Linked DNA regions of Homo sapiens: regions 1, 2, 4 and 5 are each linked to region 3. Evidence: promoter capture Hi-C in 16 types of primary human blood cells and fetal thymus (Javierre and others, 2016). All regions are on one chromosome and are shown on one strand. Each heading gives the region's core, a stretch centred on a gene start or on the middle of the fragment in contact. The rest is flanking DNA. Distances are from core to core; before and after follow the strand shown.

Region 1 (3,695 bases), core at 247-2,746, 1.5 Mb after region 3:
TTTCTCCACATTCTCCAGCCGTTTTAGTATTTTGCAGATAAAGTAGGAAAAACAGTCGCAACTATAAATACAAGCCATTGTATTGATAGTATGAAGCGATTTCTCTGAGTTTGATGACAAATGTCACCTTCAAGCAGTACGCAGATTATTCCTACGCCAGAGTTCCTTCACCAACTCTCCCCCTCCCCCTCTCTTTCAGCAGAGACAAGCGATGGAGATGCAGGTTACCCAGGTCTTCCATGACAAAATGGTTACTCTGTTACATTTAAGAGAGGTGCTTCTGGAATTCACAATATACAGTTCAATAAAGAATATTTGCAGTAGTTATTTAGTTAGTGATGCTGTCACTTCAATATATCCTGGCATTACAAAAAAGGTCAATGAACGGGTTCCAAATAACATTTTGAGAAATTAGATATGGCGGAAACACGTCTGCTGCAAACGCAGATCGTAATCTGGAGCACCTGGTAAATACTACCTTTCCAGCTTTTTGCTTTCAAGGTCCCTGTGACAAAAGCCGTTATAAACACTGTGGGCAAATGAGGAGAAAAAGGGGTTAGGACCCAACCTTTCCCTCCCATCGCAAACCTTATCGTCCTTATCAAACACCGTAACGTCCTTTGGAAAATAGCTGCAGCGTCGCATTTTGTCCTCCCGTCATGCAGCAGGATTAAGATCGCTCCTCTCCCAGGACAACTACTTCTCCAGAGTCCTCCTAAGAGCGCCCCATACCCCGCAAGGTGGAAATCAATCCCTTCCCATTACTGGGTCACTGCGGCAATCCCCAGAAGATGAGTCCGAGCTTGCCAAAGGGCGCGAAGGACAGTGCCTTGCACAGCTGCCTCCCAAAAGTCCCTAAAGTGCAAGAAACCCCACTCAAGGGCGCGAGGGCCAGAGGTGGGCAGGAACCCGGGGCCCACACTCACCATGATTGAAAACTGCGGGGACAATTTCAACAACTGCAAAATGAGCCTCAGAGAGTCAGGTCACCTCTACCGCGGAACTGACTCGGAGAGGGCGAGCGGTGTTAGCGAGAAAAGGCTCCGCTCCCGACGCGGCGCTCTCTGGGAACTGTAGTTTACGCTGCCCTGGTTGTGGCGCAATCTCCAAAGCATTTCCTTCAAGTGTTGAACTACACTTCCCGATACCAGAGGTTTTTTTCAAGCTCTTCTCACTGCGCTCTGCGCCGATTGCAAAGTAGTCCCTGAGGATGAGCCCCTGTGATTGGAGGACGACAACAAACGGATGGTTTGGGCTCAGGAGGAAAGGACCTGCCTGATGGAGCCCGGCAATTGGCGGGAGAGATAGCGTGTGTAACTCTAGGGAGGGGAGAATCACCCCTTAGCGACATCACCCCCACGCGCGTGACTGAGACTGCATCCTCCCATGAGGGTAAACGTGGGAGGTAAAGAGACCTTCCGCTGCGTAAAGCTGGATCGACCCGGAAACAAAATCTTTTAAAAAACGATTGACACTCTGGAGGGGCGGGGGAATTGATAAGTTGGGACGACCGGACAGCTTCTCAGGTTGCTAAGCGACGAGGCGGGAGCGCACGCACACCCTGGCTGCTTTGTAGCACCTGAGGAAACTGTGGCGGCGGCGGCGGCGTCCTGGAGACCCAAGAGACCAAGCGAGCGTGTCGCTCCCTCTCGGGTCCGAGGACCTAGCCTAGGAACCTTCTGCCCGGGGTAGTGTCTGGTGATGAGGCGAGAGTTTTGCTGGGACGCCTACTCCAAAGCGGCCGGGAGTCGCGCTTCTTCCCCACTCCCGAGACAGGTGAGCCCTGGCCCGAGGGCAAGGGGTTTTCTTTTAACCTTAGGATCCGGAATGCGGTTGGTGCGCCGTCCCGCTTTGCTTTTATCCGCTGTGCGGATGCCTGCAAGCTCGCCGGTCCCTTTTCTGAGCGGAGTATGAGGGCTGTGGGAATGCAGCTATTTTGGAGGGGGTGGTGCCCTGGAGTAGGTGCACCCCCGACCCCAAATGGAGCTCTTCCAGAGTTATATCAAAAATATTTATTGAGCATTTACTTTGTAGGAGGTGAGCCTCTCCCTTCCAGGAGGTCACAGTATACGGTTCTAATTTGCTCTAAGCCCTCCGTGAATGTTGAGTTTTGTCCATTCCCTTTTGGAAGAAACAGGATGCGCCTTAAACCATCTTGAGTCTTAAAGTTATGCCAAACAGGCATTTCTAAGGAAAGACTGGCGACTGAAGGGGAGACACTGGTTGTTTAGTCAGTCAGTCTCAGCTGGTAAAACAACTTAAGAGGTTCTCTTTAAAATTAATGCTGCCAAGAGAATTGCTGTGCTTTTTGAAAGCTTGTTTCTTGTGGATGTTAAAAGGAAGATATGATGCTCGGGAGTAGCATACACAGCATATACGTAATGAAAATGAATAAAACATCTCTATTAGATAACATTGTTAGAACTTCCGTTTTTTCTCTGTCACTGATAAATGAATGCCAAGTAATATCTTTCAATTTTTCTCTATTTCAGTTTGGAGGATTTGCTATTTTTGGAAAGAAATGTAATGCTTTACTTTTAGCATTTATTAATATCATACCTGAATGACTCTCCTTGTATCTCTTTATTCATTTGGCTCTCAGACAACATACTTTCCTGGTTTTCCTCTTTTGTTACTGGTTCTCAGTTCTGCGGAGTTTCTAAATTTTTTTTAGTTGTGATCTCTTAACATTGGGGTGCCTGTATTCTCTGTCTATACTAAATCCCTCAGTGAGCTAATTCATAAGTTGCATCACTTCAAATGCTACTTTTAATGTCAAAAACTCTCAAATTTATGTGTCTAGTCCTGAATTAGTAGGTGTGCATTATTCTCAAACCTAGGTTCTCTGAGTTTTACTTTTTACTCTGAGCAGTTACGAAAAATTTCTTCCATTATCCTCCTAAATGAATTCTTCTACTAGCTGCTAACAGAAAGATTTTTCCATGTTGTTGTCCTTAAAAATATCATGATTTTACCTAATGTAAATGACGAGTTAATGGGTGCAGTACACCAACATGGCATGTATACGTACATATGTAACAAACTTGCACGTTGTGCACATGTACCCTAGAACTTAAAGTATAACAAAACAATCTCATGATTTTTGTCCTCGATTTACAGTGAATTTTACAAGGGAGACTTTTTATAACCAGAATTCTCACTGCAGTCCTATAGCAGGACAGGACATTCCCATACTCCAAGAAGGCCACAAACATGTAAGCCCCCGTATTCCCATCCAGTCCAGATATACAGAATTGAAGTCACCTGTGTGGTAGTTCACGGGCCTTGTTCTGTTTATTGCTAGTTGCCCTTGTAAATCAGGTTAAGGAGCATATTAGCACTGATTGTAAGTTACTTTTCTCAGGTAATATAATACACTGCAAGAGAAGATGTTTGGTAAGGTGGGTATATCAGCACATTTCCAATTATACTAATAAGATTGTCTGTGTTCTCTTCCTTTTGAACCGTCTTTGGTAATAGCTAATGTCAAGTAGCACAATATGTCATTGCACTTTCACTGTGAGTTTGAATCTCCAGGTGGTTTGTGAATGTGTTGCAGACATTCATTTTTTGTTAAGGCAACAAACAGAGCATTAAACTGTTATGCTATATTTGGAGTTATGCTTAACATTTTTTTTGCCCAGCCTCGCGTTATTTAGTAAGGTAATATTTAATTCAAATTGTAGAAAATGTTT
Region 2 (4,186 bases), core at 33-2,532, 1.0 Mb after region 3:
CCCGTCTGTACTAAAAATATATAAATTAGCCGGGCATGGGGGTGAGCGCCTGTCATCCCAGCTACTGGGGAGGCTGAGGCTGGCGAATCGCTTGAACCTGGGAGGTGGAGGTTGCAGTGAGCCAAGATAGCACCACTGCACTACAGGCTGGGTGACAGAACGAGACTCCATCTCAAAAAAAAAAAAAAAATATACAATTCAGTGGTTTTTAGATTAAATAATTGTGCAACCATCACCATAATCTAATTTTAGAACATTTTCATCATTCCCTCAAAAAACCTTTATCCATTAACAGTTACTCCCCATTCTCTTCACCCCACCCCCAGCTTTAGGCAACCACTAGTCTACTTTCTGTCTCAATATTGGCCTAATGTGGGCCTTTCATATAATGCTTCTTGGCTCATAGCTTCTTGAAAAGCTTTTCCTTTAAAATCAGTGTACATGTTAAAATTTTTTATTTGAGCTAGGGAATAAGCAACTGATCACCAATATTAAAAGTGATGTTGTAAATAACTGATACACTTTTTGGTTGTATTCAGCATAAAGTTGGAGAAGGCATGAATGGCTTCAGTAACCTCAAGAGGTAGTTTGGTCAGCTCGGAATCAATAAGTAAAAGTGGGCATTTTTGTCATTGAATATTAGAATATCAGGGAAAAGATCTTAAAGGTCATCAGCTTACTTCCTGCTTACCTCGCTATTAGTTGGCAGCAACCAGATGAGGAAACATGGAGATTAGAAGCTTGAATCTCTAGGATGTGTGGCTCAAGAACCACAGCGTGGCCATGTAAAGCAAGAAATGGGACTTTGGAAGTTAGAATTGTTTAGATTCTTGTATATATGTATGTATTTGACATTTTGCTAGCAGAGCTGAGAAAGAACTGGACATTCCCCCAACTTTGGGGGAAAAGTGGGTGACTATATGTAGCTACATTGATGAAACCCATGTTACAAAATCCTCTAAAAATGCTTTAACCTAAGGAAGGGTAGCAAATGTATTATTTAGATATCTTCTTATACTATTAATGTCTTATTTTTTTAAATCCAAATTTTAAAAAAATATAATTAACAGGGCCAGTTGGAGGTTTCCTTTTTCAAATATCCAGTGCCCTAACATCTAAAACAATGGCTCTGCGAGGACGGTTTTGACTCCAAGGGAAATTTGGCAGTGTCTAGAGACATTTTTGGTTGTCATAGCTGAAGGAAATGGTATTGGCCAAGGATGTTGCTAAATACCCTACAATGCACAGGACATACTTCTGCAAGAAATTATCCGGTTCAAAATGTCAATGGTACCATTGTAAACCTAGGGGCTGCACGATTTCTGGTAAGGACCTAGTGTTTTTGATTCCTACCAGGTGGGAGAATAGTCTCAGTGGGCGATGTTTGGTGAATTAGATTAACACCTTAGATCCTCTAGCAACTAACTCTATTTCTTTGCAAGAGGAGGAATTGAGGGAAAAATAAAAGGAAATCTGTTTACGACATGACGCAGATACTGTTTCGTATGTTTAGGTTGTCTTCAAATCTGAAAAAAGAACCCCTTTTTTTCTAAAAACAGACTTAATTTACTGCAAATTTGGACTACTATTGTTTTGAATTGTTATTTTTGCATATGTTTTTGAAATTGTAAATAGAATATAGTCATATCTTTTTTATCCAGAAGTGATTTTTTTTTTTCCTGGCAGCTTCAACTACCAAGAAAGGAGAAGTAAGCTAAGTGTTTAACTTTATGGATAACACTTATGTTATATATGTATGTATAACACTTATGTTATGTATGTATGTATGTATGTTGTGAATGTCCAGAAAAATTCCAAGCTTATAATGAATCTTTTTTTCCCCTATGAGCTCCACTTTAGACTATTTAATGTTTTTAACAAGCTTAATTTGTTGATGAAAGAAGGTAATTGACAGTTGAGATCACTTTTGCTATTTATCATCCATACCTTATGGATAAGTTACTCAAGTTATTCTTTCTGAGCCTCAGTTTTCTCATCTATAAAATAGGGGTAGTGATAATCCATGTATTACAAGGCTATTGTAAGAATTATTAAATGAGGTAATATGTATTAAGATGCAGTGTCAACTATAATATACTGTAGAAGAGTTATTCGCTTCAGAAGAATCAAATTAGGAAGGAATATAGAGGTTGTCAAAGGCAGGAATGTAGATAGTAAGGCGGAGAATAGTGATGGCTGACAGCCTCTCTAGGGAGGAGAGAAGCACTAAATACAAATATTGATAACAAACTAGTAAAATAACTAGTATATCACTATAATCTGAAACTCCTTAATATAGGGGCAAACTGACTTCCTTCTGTAGCACCTGAGAGTATCACCGTTATAGCACAGTAAAATAACTGATTATTATAATGGTGAAATTAACTTATTAAGAAAAGATTACCTTGTTTTCAAATATGCTATTTGAGAAGACTTGAAAATATATATATTTTACTTCAGAGTTAAAATTTTTGGAAGTGACTTATTCAAAAAGTTTTAGTGTTTTTAAGAGTATGCTGTCGTTATTTGGATTAATTCCCTTTTGGGGAATAATCCTTTTGTCTTCATTTACTATGCCTGCCTTCCTGTGTATTTGAAGGGTTTTTCTATTATCTGAAGGTAATTATTCTTCAGATGTGAGAATTTAACTGAAGAAATAGGGGTTGTAAGCCTGCTCACCATTTGTAAAATCTCATTTCCTTCTAGATTTCTTTTAAAATTATTTTTCATCTTTCTGGCGTGTCACTACGCCCAGCAAATTTTTGTATTTTAAGTGGAGACAGGGTTTCGCCATGTTGGTCAGACTGGTCTCGAACTCCTGACCTTGTGATCTACCTGCCTCGGCCTTCCAAAGTGTTGGGATTACAGGTGTGAGCCACCGCGCCTGGCTGGTTTCTTAAAATTTTGTTAACTGGTCACCTTTCTTTCAGAATCATATAAAAATAAGGGTAGAGGTGGTCAAAGGCCCAGCTATTCAGTAAGATTTTTATGGGGTAATTTGAGGGTGGAATAGTTGCAGACAATATTCAGAATAAGTAATGTGGTATTGATTGGTATTATATATGATATATATATATCTCTCTATATGATATATATATCTCTATATATGTGATATATATCAATATATAGATATATATATCAATATATATCTATATATTGATATATATTTATATATAAATGCTGATATATATCATATGATATATATTGATATATATTTATATATAAATGCTGATATATATATCATATATATATATCAGCATTTACTTAATAACATTATTTGATGTATACTCTATACTTAAATCTTCCCATTTGTCCCAAAAATCTTTATAGCTTTTTCCCCCCTCAAATGCAGGATTCATTCAAGGTTAATGCATTGCATTTGGCTGGTATGTCTCTTTAAGTCTCCCCCAATCTGGACTAGTCCTACCGCCTTCCTCTCTTCTTTAGGTTTATCCATTGAGAAGTAGAGACCATATGTCCTGGAGCATGTTCCACATTCTGAATTGGTCTGTTCCTCATGATTAGATTCTAGTCAGACATTTCTGGTGAGACCATCACACAGATGATGTGTATTTCTGCTGTATTACATCAGGAGGCACATGATTTCAGGCTATCACTATATCGGTAATGCAAGTTTGATCACTTGGTAAAGGTGAACTGACAGATCTCTCTACTGTTTAATAAATAATTTATAGAGGATACTTAATAGCCATGTAAATATCCTATTCCCTGACAACCCTTTAACCAGTGATTTTGGTACCCATTAATGATCCTTGCTTGAATCAGTCATTATGTTGGAGGATTACAAATGGTAACTTTTCTTTTTGCATTCCTTCTACTTTTATTACCTTCTTTGACTTTTTCAGGGCATTGAGGTCAGGTTAGATAAATTCTGAATATAGGCCACGGAATGTAGAAATCAGGTCATTCCTAACCTTTTCTGGAGCCAAGTAAATGGTGAAGATGGAAGACAGCTAAGGAAGTAGACCAAAAAGAGAACGGAGGTTTGCCAATGAAGGGGAGGTGAGAAGTAGTAGCTGGAGGAGGCAGGGAGGAGGGAAAGGGCCTTCATTTGGTGCTTGAAATTTTCTTTTCTTTTTTTTTTTTTTGATGGGCCGATGAAGAGATTAAAGATAGAATTGGGGAATAACTAATAGAAAAAGGTCCCAGATGAAGCAGGAAGAGG
Region 3 (3,808 bases), core at 566-3,065:
CTGTCTCAAAAAAAGGGATCGGATAAGGACCAAAAAACAGAGAGATCCTGAAGGGTCAAGTACTATACAGATATTTCATATTGGTGAGTGTATTCAAGTATCCATTTATTTTTCTCCTAACGACTGCTAACAGCTAACAGCTACTGATCATTTTCTTTGTGCCAGGAACTATATTAGGCACTATACATCAATATCTTATTTAATCCTAATAACTCACCACACAGGTACTACTATTATTCCCATTTTTAAGGATGAGGAAACCAAGGCACGGAGAAGTTAAATAACTTAATGACACGCCTGTAATCCCAGCACTCTGGGAGGCAGAGGCAGGAGGATTGCTTGAGCCCAGGAGTTCAAGACCAGCCTGGACAACATGGCAAGACCCCCATCACCATTAAAAAAAAAATTAATCAGAGTTAGTAACATGGCAGAGCTAAAGCCTGTTTGACTTAGAGAGCCTGAGCTTAGCTGCCTTCCTAACCTGTAAGAATAACTCGCTCAAGAAGTTAAATAAATGTTTCTGTTGTGTCACCTTTAGACTACCACGCTGATTTTGTTTCCTTTTGGCTTCCTTCCATCATTGAGTGCCTTTTATGTTCCAAGCATTGTGCTAGGGGCTGGGGAAACCACAATACAGTGTGATGAGTAAAAACAGAGGCTGCAGAAGGTAGCCCAAAAAAGGGAGGAGTTATCAGTCGCAGGGTGGGGAAGTGCTTTAAAAAGCTTTGCGCAAAAGAGGTTAAACTGAATTCCTTGGGTTTTTTGTTGTTGTTGTTTTCTAAGTGGGCCAGAATTGACTCAACAGAGGGTGGGAAAGGGGAATGGAGGGAACAAAGTAAAAAGTGGTGACTTCTAGATCTTTCAACTAAACCCAAGGCAAACTGACCCAACAACCTTTGTTACACACTTTAACACAACACTCTTCATACCCTAGATCTGAGAACTGTTAGATTATTTACAAACGCTACCTCCCTTCGTGGTCCTGATGAATTCCCAGTGAGGTCCAATCTGCCCTGGCAGGCTTCCGCTCATTTTTGTTACAAACAATACACTAAACCCAACCTACTAATCATCAAGGGCCTGGAACAGGTTTTGGACATTCGTCCCCAGGCTGCTGAGAACTGTTCTAGTGATGACAGTTAGAAAGGGTAGCCCTCCGAGGCAAAAAAAATGAGACATCTTGATTTTTTCTCTCCGCATCTGGGCGCGGCGATAAGAAGACATCACTGGTCTCCATCTTTCCAGGGGGAAAGGCCCGAGCTGCATTAGCCCCGACTGGGGAGCTGGGTAAACAGCCCACGCCCGGGAGAGGCCTGAGGGAAAGTGACCTCCCCCGGGGCCCAGGCCGACCAGCGGCGCAGCTGCTCGGCCGCCAGATGCGCGGACTCGCGCACTCCCTCGCCGCGCCCGGGCATTCCCAAGCCCAGCCGCCCGCCTCGGCCCCGACCCCTCGGCCGCCACAGCACACGCCGTTCCGCTCGCAAGATGGAGGCGAAGGCACGAGGCGCCCCCGCCCCCCAGGGAGCCTTTGTGCCCTTGCCGGCGGGGACGCGAGGCCAGACGGCCCGCACCGCAAGGGCCCCGCAGGCACCGAAGAGACGCGGGGGAGGGGGCCGGGCGCGCGCGCGGATCTAGCCCGGGCCACCGCCCCCAGCGCCGCGGCACCCCCGACACCAGCACCCGCACGCGGGACACTGCCTACCTACCGCACCGCGAACGCTTCGCACGTCCGGAGCGGTCTCAGCAGCCCCATGCGCTGGCCCCGAGCTGGCGGACCCTGACTGCAACTGCGGCCCTCCAACCGCAGCCCAAAACGCGCAGGGCAGGACCGAGCGCCAACCACGCCCTTCGGCCGCGCTGACCACGCCCTTCTTCCCGCCCCTTCTCCCTCCGCGGGAGGGCTTTCGGCAATTTCGCGCAGCGAATCGCAGCTCTAAGTCCGCGGCTCCACCAATACGTGGACGCTCCTGCAAGATGAGCCCGCCCCCTACTTCGTCCTGGCCTATGGGAAGCCGGGACTTCTTCAGCGGCTGTCCTCCCTCGCTTTTGGAGCTCCGACCTCAGCTTCGCCTGCGAGCTGGGTTGTGTAAAGGCTGGTCATTTTGGGGCGCTTAGGGGTGGGTGCCGGGGGGCGCGCTTTCCCTCGTGAAGGTCGCTCCAGGAGTCATGCGTACATTCGTTCATTTTGCTCTGGACGCACTGATGTTCCCGGCTCGCCGCCGTGCCGCAGTCACGAGGCTCTCCGAACGCCTTTCACTGTGTTTCTGTTTACATTCGCGTCTGCAAGACCCGGCGGCGCGACCGAGGCCCGAACAGGTGCTGCGAGGCGGGGCGGGGAGCCAGTGCTGAGGGGAGCTCCCCAGGCCGGGTGGTTGAAGACAGCTTCTGGGGGGAGGTGGAGCTCTGGCTCGTGGAGAATGGGAAGGGTGTGGAAAATGAACTGGTAGCTACTTAGCCACTCTGAGCAGCCTGCTCTGATGGGAAATCGGTGATGGAGTCGGAGGGAAGTGGGAGGCAGCTTGTGGGAGGCCAGGGTGCTCACTCTCTCCCCTGCCAGCATGGGACCTAGTAACTTTCATACATCTCTATCTATCTATCTATTTTGCAAAGATGGGGTCTTGCTGTGTTGCCCAGGCTGGGCTTGAACTCCTGGACTCAGACGATCCTCCCGCCTCGGCCTCCCAAAGTGCTGGAATTACAGGTGTGAGCCACTGCATCCCATCCCCTAGGAGCTTAATGACACTGCCCTTTAGCTTTTACTGCTTAGCAGAATCCGGAGGCATAGAGGAACTACCACCAGGGTGGCGTGGGGAAGAGGCCCTCCCTTCTGATGATTTTCTCTCAGCAGCACTTTCAGCAATCTGGCTTCAACTGAATATCTCCCCAGTTCATAAAACAGGCGTCTGTAAATGTCAACCCCAGCTGGGTGCAGGGTACAAATTTTTTCCTACAGAGCTCTTGAGTCCCAGGTAGTTTAGGAGACAAGGACTTGTTTGGTTTTCCCAGACCTGTCAGGACAGCTCAGAGGTTTTGTCTAACCCAGGGGCCACAAACTTTGGACAACAGCAGCAGCTAGCCCACAGATGGTTTTATTTGGGCATCGCATAGCTTTTCTTTGTTTGTTTGCTTTTGTTTTTTAATAAGAATTTGAATCCCACCACCACCACTGGTCCATTAAGTAACAGCCAGCCTTCACACATTTGCTGCCTACCTGAAGGCATTTGTGTTTGTGACCCTTGATCTTTTCTATACACAGAAGACCTCCAGTGGAGTCACCTAATCCCACAGCCAAGTCACCCCTGCTGGACAGAGAACTGTACAAAGTCCAAACAGGCGTACATATCCTGTATGGTTTCCTCATCTATAAAGAGAGGGGATAGGATGAAGGAGTCCCAAGGTTCCTTTTGGTTCTGATGTTCTGTAATTTTGTGTTGTGAGCAGCTTTTGTTTTTGCCTGACGGGAAAACTTTCCTTTGGGAATTGTCTGCAGTCCGCTGGGTCAGATGGTTCTTTAGCACCGCACTTCTCCGGTCTCCCAAGGCAGGATGGGTGTGGAGAAGGGGAGGTGTGGAACCCAGGCCTGACCAGCTGTAGTCTCCCTCCTCTTGTTTTCAGATTTCCCCAGGGATGCGCACATGACCAAACCTGAGATGATCTGAGCCCTTGTCGGGGATTTTAGAGAATGAGGCTGGGAGAAAGAGGCTCTTTCTTTTGGTGTTTCTGAGCGCGGGAAAAGTAGGCCTAGAGCTGTCTGTAGTTATACTCCTTGCAGCAGCAATGCTGGAGAACCAGGCCTGGAAATGTTAGG
Region 4 (3,940 bases), core at 486-2,985, 1.2 Mb after region 3:
TTAATCCTTTTTTTCATAAGATACTACTCTGGAATATCCCTTCAAGGTGCATGATGTTGATAATCTGTATCATTAGAAATCTGTAACATCGGTAGATTTATAGATTTTACCTTTGCAGAAACCTGGGGTGGGGGGATCCAAAGAATGAAGATGGGGGCTGATAAGAGTGTGTACAGGGTTAAGGAGCTGGAGTGAAATGGATTGTGAATTAGAAAGAAAGCCTGGAAGCCAGTTTTTGTCTGGTTCCATATGCGACCATCCACGGATGATACAAATTCTGCCTATAATTTCTTCCTTCTTTCTACTTTCCCATAGAAACTTGAGGAAACTCAGTTTGGTTTACCCAGTCCCATATCCTAGGATGTATAACAACCTCACCATATCTTTTTCCTTTGCTTTAGACAGGAGCTCTCTATCAACAGCAAGGAAACCATGTCTGTGGTCCTATTTCTAAGCATCTTTTTTGGTGCCTTTTTAGATTTAATGCTTGGCACAGTGTCTGGTACATAGCGAACATTCCATAAGTATATATTGAATGACCAGTTTAGTGCCACTAAATCATTTTAACTCACAGTGTTGTATCCTACTCTCCACTCTTTTTTTTTTTCTTTGAGATAGAGTTTCGCTCTGTCACCCAGGCTGGAGTGCAGTGGTGCGATCTCGGCTCAATGCAACCTCCACCTCCTGAGTAGCTGGATTCTCCTGCCTCAGCCTCCTGAGTAGCCAGGATTACAGGTCCCCACCTGGCTAGTTTTTGTATTTTTAGTAGAGACAGGGTTTCGGCGTGTTGGCCAGGCTTGTCTCAAACTCCTGACCTCAGGTAATCCTCCTGCCTCAGACTCCTCAAGTGCTGGAATTACAGGCGTAAGCCACAGGCCCGCCCCTACTCTCTGCTCTTTGAGAGCCATATAAAACATAAAAAGTTTATATTTAGAGATAACGTTTTTTAAGTTTCAGTTATTTCCACCTAGGAGATGAACCTGGGCCAAATTATAAGAATAATAGCAGCAAATGCCCTGATGACTTTACAATAAGCTGTGTTAACTACCCATGAGCATTATCTAATAAGGAGTGGTGTAGGAATTGTTAAAGGTATGAAATAAGTATACAGATCATCAATGTGTGTGGTCCTTTATTTTTTCTTGCCTATCCTCTACATTCAAGAAAATAAAGCAGTGTAGTTTGAGCGAACATGTACTAGACATAAAAATTTCTGTGTCATGCCCAAAGTGTTTAGCCAAGAGACCAGGCAACAGTTATCCACTGGACTGTTGCCCATACTCAATATTGGCTCCCATCTGTACCCATCTAAATCCTAGGCCACCCACATGAGAGAGGAAAAAGGGGCTACTGTTACTCAGTCAGCAGTTGCCAGTAACTGACTACATCTAACAATAGGGCATTTCACTTGAGTAAAAAGGTAACCAAACGGGCTTAACTGGAAAAAGATATCAAATTATATCTATGAGATGGACTACTAATGAATGAGTTGTCTAAAAATGAATGGGTTTCCAAATACTTGAGGAAGAGAAAGACTTCATTCTTTCCTGTTGCCAACACCCTGTTAATGAACCAGGAAGTTTGCTGAAACAAGTTGTGAATTTAAATTATGACATATCCTTCCATTTGTTCACAGTATGATTTTTAAGTTATATTTGAGAGTTATATAACTTTTACATCAGAGCAGTAGCAATTATTTCAAATAACTGAGATGCTTTAAAAAATGAAGTTAGTTCACATTATGGATAGTTAATTAAAGGTTCATAAACCAATCTTCTAAGTGGTTTTAAAAGTCATTAGGCTCCCAAGCATGTTTAATCAAAACATACATTATCTTGTTCATGTTTATCAATAATTCCCCTCTAGATTCTCCTTTGAAAGTTGAAGGAAGCAGGTCCTTACTATTTTGTTTTCTGTTTAGTCTGTTCTGCATGTTCCCCAGAGGAGAGTGTTGGTGAGAAATGGTGACACCCATGAGGTTGTTGTATTTCTCTCATGTGCAAAACTGTATCTCCAAATTGTGTCCGCCCCTTTGATGATAGAGGCAATAGAGCCATTCCCTTTAGTGAATGGCCCAGGAAAAAACATAAATAAACTCCCTATATTCTCTCAGGGTTTTTAACAAGCGTAGATTGTTATGTGATTATAATTTGAAAAGATAAAAAAACTAATAAGAAACCATCTTTTACCAAACTCATAGAATAAATATTATTTTGATTTACTGTAGTGATATATGTATAGAAGTTCAGGTTACTTATTGACTTTCAAATCCTCACAGAGAAGAGTTGTGAAAGAGAAAAGCATTCAGTTTAATTCTATTTTTTCTGCCTCTTTCAACTATATGAAAGATTCCCTGTTGTGCATTCCATCAAATGACTTTTGATGGTTTTCTAAACATCTCTGCCTCTGGTCTAGTTTATTAAATTTCCTGCTAGTGCCACCACTGGAAAGGAAAGGATAAAGAACTTCTGTTTCCTAACTTAGTCTCAGGGAATGTATTTTAAGCATTTCACACCCACCAACCTAACGAAATATTAAAGAGAAGATTCTCAGCTGGGTGCAATGGCTCACAGCTGTAATTCCAGCACTTTGGGAGGCCAAAGCTGGTGGATCATCTGAGGTCAGGAGTTTGAGAGCAGCCTGGCCAACGTGATTAAACCCCCTTCTCTACTAAAATACAAAAATTAGCTGGGCTTGGTGGCAGGCGCCTGTAATCCTAGCTACTTGGGAGGCTAAGGCACAAAACTCACTTGAACATGGGAGGCGGAGTTTGCAGTGAGCTGAGGTCACGCCACTGCACTCCAGCCTGGGCTACAGAACAAGACTTTGTCTCAAAAAATAAAAATAAAATAAAGAGAAGATTCTCAGGACTGCTTTTTGGGTGAAGATTAAATAATTGAATAATTCTATGTCATTAGATGGATAATATGATTAGAGAATAAAAGGTAACTACTTTTTCTCTCTAATGAAAAAGAGGAGGTATGTCATATTTAGAGAAAAAACTACAGGAAAAAATATGAAATACTAATGTTAAGTTCTGGTGCCATTTTATTATTTTTTTTATTTAATTTTTTTTTTTAGATCACATAGCTACTATGTGACAGAACCAGGATCTGAACTGAAGCTATCTGACTCCAAAAACCCACAGGGAGGAAAATTTTCTCCCTTCGGTTTCTGGAGGTTGATTTGCTACCCCTCTCCATCAAAACAGAAAGGAGTGCAAATGGTCAGGCCTTTATCCGGGACAAGTAATCTCTTAATGACTGAAGTTCTCTAGTAATACTGTTTTCTTCTTTTTTTTTTTTTTTTTTTTTTTGAGATGGAGTCTCGCTCTGTCACCCAGGCTGGAGTGAAGTGGTGCAGTCTCTGCTCACTGCAACCTCTGCCTCCCAGGTTCAAGCAATTCTCCTGCCTCAGTCTCCCAAGTAGCTGGGATTACAGGGGCCTGCCACCTCACCTGGCTAATTTTTGTATTTTTTTTGGTAGAGACAGGGTTTCACCATGTTGGCCAGGCTGGTCTCAAACTCCTGACCTCAAGTGATCCGCCCACCTCGGCCTCCCAAAGTGCTGGGATTACAAGTTTGAGCCATGACGCCTGGCTTCTGGTGCCATTTTAAATTGCACTTCAATTTTTTTTTTAAATTTCAGTAAGAATACACAGCTTAAAAAAAAAATCCAGATAGTACCAAAATGCCAATAATGAATAGCAGTACTTTTTTCTAGAAAGTACTTTAAAATAATGATGAAGCTTTAATTTATAAAACATGCATGCATTGTTGGATCAGTCAGACCAAAACTACTTTGGATGCCACAAAAAGGGCACTTCAGCTGCTAACGAAAAATATCCGATGTCTACGAAATCAGAGTTTCAGAGCCACCAGAGCTGCACCATCCAGGAGCTCCATGTTGGCTGCAATGTGCTGAGCACAGCCAAGGAGGT
Region 5 (3,646 bases), core at 543-3,042, 1.0 Mb after region 3:
GGTCAAATTTGAATATGCAGAATTGGGCATGTGGGAGCTGGGAAGGAGCCCAGGGAAGGCAATTCAAGCAAAAAAGAAAACAAAACAAAATGAAACTCATATAATTTTTCTTACAAATAATGGGGAAGTAGCTGTAAACACACTAGCTATTATCCTTATCATCATCATCATTATGTGGACACTATGTGACACACGGACCACTTTGCCCACCATGTTAATTTGCTCCCAACCTTACTTATTGTACTAGCCATTGTGTTCTTCCAGCAGAATCTTCAGTGTTAGCCCAAAAGTTCTTGGGGTCTAACCACCTGAAACATGATTTTGTTGACTCTATCGCTAAACGTTAAAATGTGTGATTATTCAGTAAAAAATATATACCTTCTGTCACTTTTTTTCCCCATGATTCCTTTGCCATTGTGAATAATATCCTCTTAAAATGCCACATAAAATCATACATCTCTGGTATTCTCATTAAAACTAAAATGTATTTTAAATTCTCTTGTTCCTGTATTCAACCAGATAAAAAGGAGGAACAGATCAATTTTCACGTGCCCTCTGTAATTGCAATTTTCAGTACTTCAACCATGTCCCTTTATACTCTTTTCTATTTTGCAGGCTAAATAATCACTTTGAGTCAGTTGCCGCAGTGAAACTTGAAACCTGATCATTGAAGAAGCCTGCAAGTTAGCAGAAAACAAGTCATACCAGGATCTGCTGCTCCAGCTGCATATTGAAGATTCAAGTCTGTTTAAAAATACCCTTATATTTCCAGTTAGTTTCATTGCTATAATATAATTCAAGCCTTAAATAACTTTCCAAAGTTGTTTTCTTGAAGAATATTATATAGTCATACCTACCCACAACTTCTAGGTGGCTCACCATAATCTTATAAGATTATAGTGATGTGATATATAACTATATAGTGATATGATATATGATATAGTGATGATGTATAACTATAATCTTATAAGACTATAGTGATATGATATACAACACTGCTTAAGCATAATTTGTGGGAAATGACATGTGCTGGTTACATGAATTTTCTGGTTAAGCCCTTTTATCTTTCAATCTTGTCACATGATTCAGGATTTTGAGTTGCTTCGTTTCTGAAAATGATGCTGTTATTGAGAGCAGAACCTATGCGGCTAGATGCTGTTTTGATATTATTTTGCTGCTGTTTCATTTGTTGTTGTCATTTGTCTCTATTAAGGGCAGATCCTTTCCCCTTCTCTCTTCTCTCTGTCTCTTCTCTCTCTCTCTCCCTTTTTCTGTCTGCTTTATGTATGTGTGTGTGTGTGTGTGTGTGTGTGTGTGTGTGTATAATTGAGGTGCCAATTAATGCAAGTTAATCGGGTTCTGATTAACTTGGGGTTTTACTGTTAGCAGGCCAAATTACCTCACCCCTAGAAACACCTGGAATATATTCCCTTCTTTTTCTTGTCCCAGTCACTATTCCTTCTTAATGAAAACGAAACAAAACTTATTCACAAAGCCATGTCTCCCAACTACTTGTGAAAACCCATTGTTAACAGCTATCAAAAGCCCATTTATACTTAAATTTGCCAAGCTGATATTTGGTAGTTCTGAATATATAAAACTCCTTTGGTTATCAAGAGAGAATACAGCCTATATTAGTTTGTTCTCATGCTGCTATGAAGAAATGCCGGAGACTGGGTAATTTATAAAGGAAAGAGGTTTAAGTGACTCACAGTTCCACAGGGCTGGGGAGGCCTCAGAAAACTTACAATCATGGTGAAGGGGGAAGCAAACACGTCCTTCTTCACATGGCAGCAGGAAAGAGAAGAATGAGAGCCAAGTGAAGGGGGAAGCCTCTTATAAAATCATCAGATCTCATGAGAACTTACTATCATCAGAATAGCATGGGGGAAAATGTCCCCACGATTCAATTACCTCCTACTGGGTCCCTCCCACAACATGTGGGGATTATGGGAACTACAATTCAAGATGAGACTTGGGTGGGGACACAGCCAAACCATATCACAGCCTATAAGGTATGAAGAAATAGGGCAGATCTAACAATGATTTGCACAGTCCTAAGCCCTAGACAGTGGGGGAAATGGTTGGCATACCAAAAAGTCACCACTACCACCATTAATTTATTCAGCAAATTTGTAAAAAGTCTACTATGTGCAAATCACTATACTAAGGGCCATAAAGAGGACAAGGCATGATCTAGTAGTTTAATATGGAGACTAATAGTTTGAGCAGAGCTAGTATGTCACACATGCCATGTTCATGGTTCAGGAAATAATATGACAATTCAAAGGAGGATGATGTCACTTCTGGGTATGTGATAAAGGAAAATTTTGTAAAAGAGATGATGTCTGAGCTGATCCTTGAAGAAGGTGTAAGAGTTTAGTAAGCAGAGTTGACAGAGTCCAGTGAAAACAAAGAGGCAGGAAAGCCCAAGTCTGTTCAGGGGCTGTGAGGAAAGATGCGTGAAGGAGAAAAATGACAAAAAGGGTTAGAAAGGCAGGTAGGATTCAATCAGGGAAAACTACTCCCAGCTACATTTTGAACCTTATTCCAAATAAATGAACAGTTTTGACCAAAGCCCTGGTCAAGGGCTCAGACTTTTTATCAGATAGATTTGAGCTCCAATCCTGATTCTACTTACTATTTATGACCTTAAGCAAGTCACCTACCTTACCTCTCTAAGCCTCAGGTTGATCACCTCTATCTCACAGGGCTGCTATCAGGTTTAAGTATAACTGGGATATGAAACACTCACTCATTCTGAAAATATTTACTGACCCTTCACTGTATATGTCCCAGACACTGAGCTTTGTAGTGCTAATACAGAGATAAAGGTAGAAACCCTTCCTTCAAGGAACACATGAGCCAATGCGTAAGGCAGATAAGTAAACAGAAAACTACAATATAGTATGAGTGAGCACAGGGGCAGAGGTGTTCAATAACTCAGATCAGGGGTGGGGGTGGTAAAGAAAACTGACCAGAGGAGGTACTCCCTGAGGCATCTCAAAGGATCCTTTGAAGAGGGATAGAAATAGAACTTACTTTCTAAGGTCTGATTATTTTTATTAGCCTTTATGTTAACATGCAGTTTCTAGCAGAAACAAACATTTAAAACTCTAAATAAATTTTTGTTGTTATTGTTATTCACTTTCATCTGTCTGGTTAATTGTTTTTGTCTTATTTCGAAGTCAGAAAAATAGAGATGGAGTAGGAGAGAGTACCTTATTTCTCAGGTGACCAAAGAGAAGAAGAAAAGAGTCCATTTGCAATCATGATAGCAGTGGAAGAGCCAAATCCCTGGGACATGTGATAAAATGAAGGAATTAAAGGGAAGTTAGCTTAACACGAAGTAGGAAATCCAGGTTCTCATTTGCAGGAGATCTGTTACAGACATTTGTTGGGTTTACAACCCATATTTATTTCCTCTTTTGAAACAGGGCCACAGTTTTGTTTTGTTTGAATCTTTACCTATTTTTATTATACGTGTTCTGGTGAAGCTGACTCCATTTGACTCTGGCTTCATGAGTTGGCTGTGATTCAGGCTTGGCCAATTAGAGTCTCACACTGGCCACGGTGATTGGATCAGAGATGAAGGCATGCTCCAATTAGAGCCAGTCAGAGGCAACGTGGGACTTTTGCTGAACTC

Evidence for each region. The method cuts DNA at HindIII sites, captures the fragments that hold promoters and counts their contacts. A CHiCAGO score of 5 or more calls a contact.
Region 1: a contact is called between the fragment with the promoter of WDPCP here and the fragment with the promoter of CEP68 in region 3, in 5 of 17 cell types (total CD4 T cells, naive CD8 T cells, naive CD4 T cells and 2 more). The highest score is 11.7, in total CD4 T cells.
Region 2: a fragment that was not itself captured here is called in contact with the fragment with the promoter of CEP68 in region 3 in 2 of 17 cell types (activated CD4 T cells and naive B cells); the score reaches 5.6 in activated CD4 T cells.
Region 4: a fragment that was not itself captured here is called in contact with the fragment with the promoter of CEP68 in region 3 in 1 of 17 cell types (activated CD4 T cells); the score reaches 6.4 in activated CD4 T cells.
Region 5: a fragment that was not itself captured here is called in contact with the fragment with the promoter of CEP68 in region 3 in 3 of 17 cell types (activated CD4 T cells, total CD4 T cells and naive CD8 T cells); the score reaches 6.7 in activated CD4 T cells.

The regions. Positions count from the first base shown.
Region 1 is chr2:63,586,278-63,589,972 of GRCh38, reverse strand. It overlaps WDPCP (WD repeat containing planar cell polarity effector), which reads left to right and starts at 1,496. Exons shown (of 18, transcript NM_015910.7): 1 at 1,496-1,776. The coding sequence starts at 1,702. It overlaps MDH1 (malate dehydrogenase 1), which reads right to left and starts at 1,010. Exons shown (of 9, transcript NM_005917.4): 1 at 927-1,010. The coding sequence starts at 929. RefSeq lists enhancers at 980-1,299, 1,811-2,331. The HindIII fragment of the contact is 5,833 bases long and covers 1-2,317 here.
Region 2 is chr2:64,012,615-64,016,800 of GRCh38, reverse strand. All of the region lies in intron 1 of VPS54 (VPS54 subunit of GARP complex), which reads left to right. Among named protein-coding and RNA genes, the nearest start is that of VPS54, 4.7 kb to the left of the region's middle. The HindIII fragment of the contact is 1,079 bases long and covers 743-1,821 here.
Region 3 is chr2:65,054,423-65,058,230 of GRCh38, reverse strand. It overlaps CEP68 (centrosomal protein 68), which reads right to left and starts at 1,815. Exons shown (of 7, transcript NM_015147.3): 1 at 1,703-1,815. RefSeq lists silencers at 583-662, 673-722, 1,353-1,692, 1,773-1,882 and an enhancer at 1,983-2,222. The HindIII fragment of the contact is 3,790 bases long and covers 726-3,808 here.
Region 4 is chr2:63,834,766-63,838,705 of GRCh38, reverse strand. It overlaps a transcript of WDPCP not described here. Among named protein-coding and RNA genes, the nearest start is that of UGP2, 5.2 kb to the left of the region's middle. The HindIII fragment of the contact is 4,031 bases long and covers 1-3,750 here.
Region 5 is chr2:64,032,766-64,036,411 of GRCh38, reverse strand. No RefSeq gene overlaps it. Among named protein-coding and RNA genes, the nearest start is that of VPS54, 15 kb to the right of the region's middle. The HindIII fragment of the contact is 4,046 bases long and covers 1-3,646 here.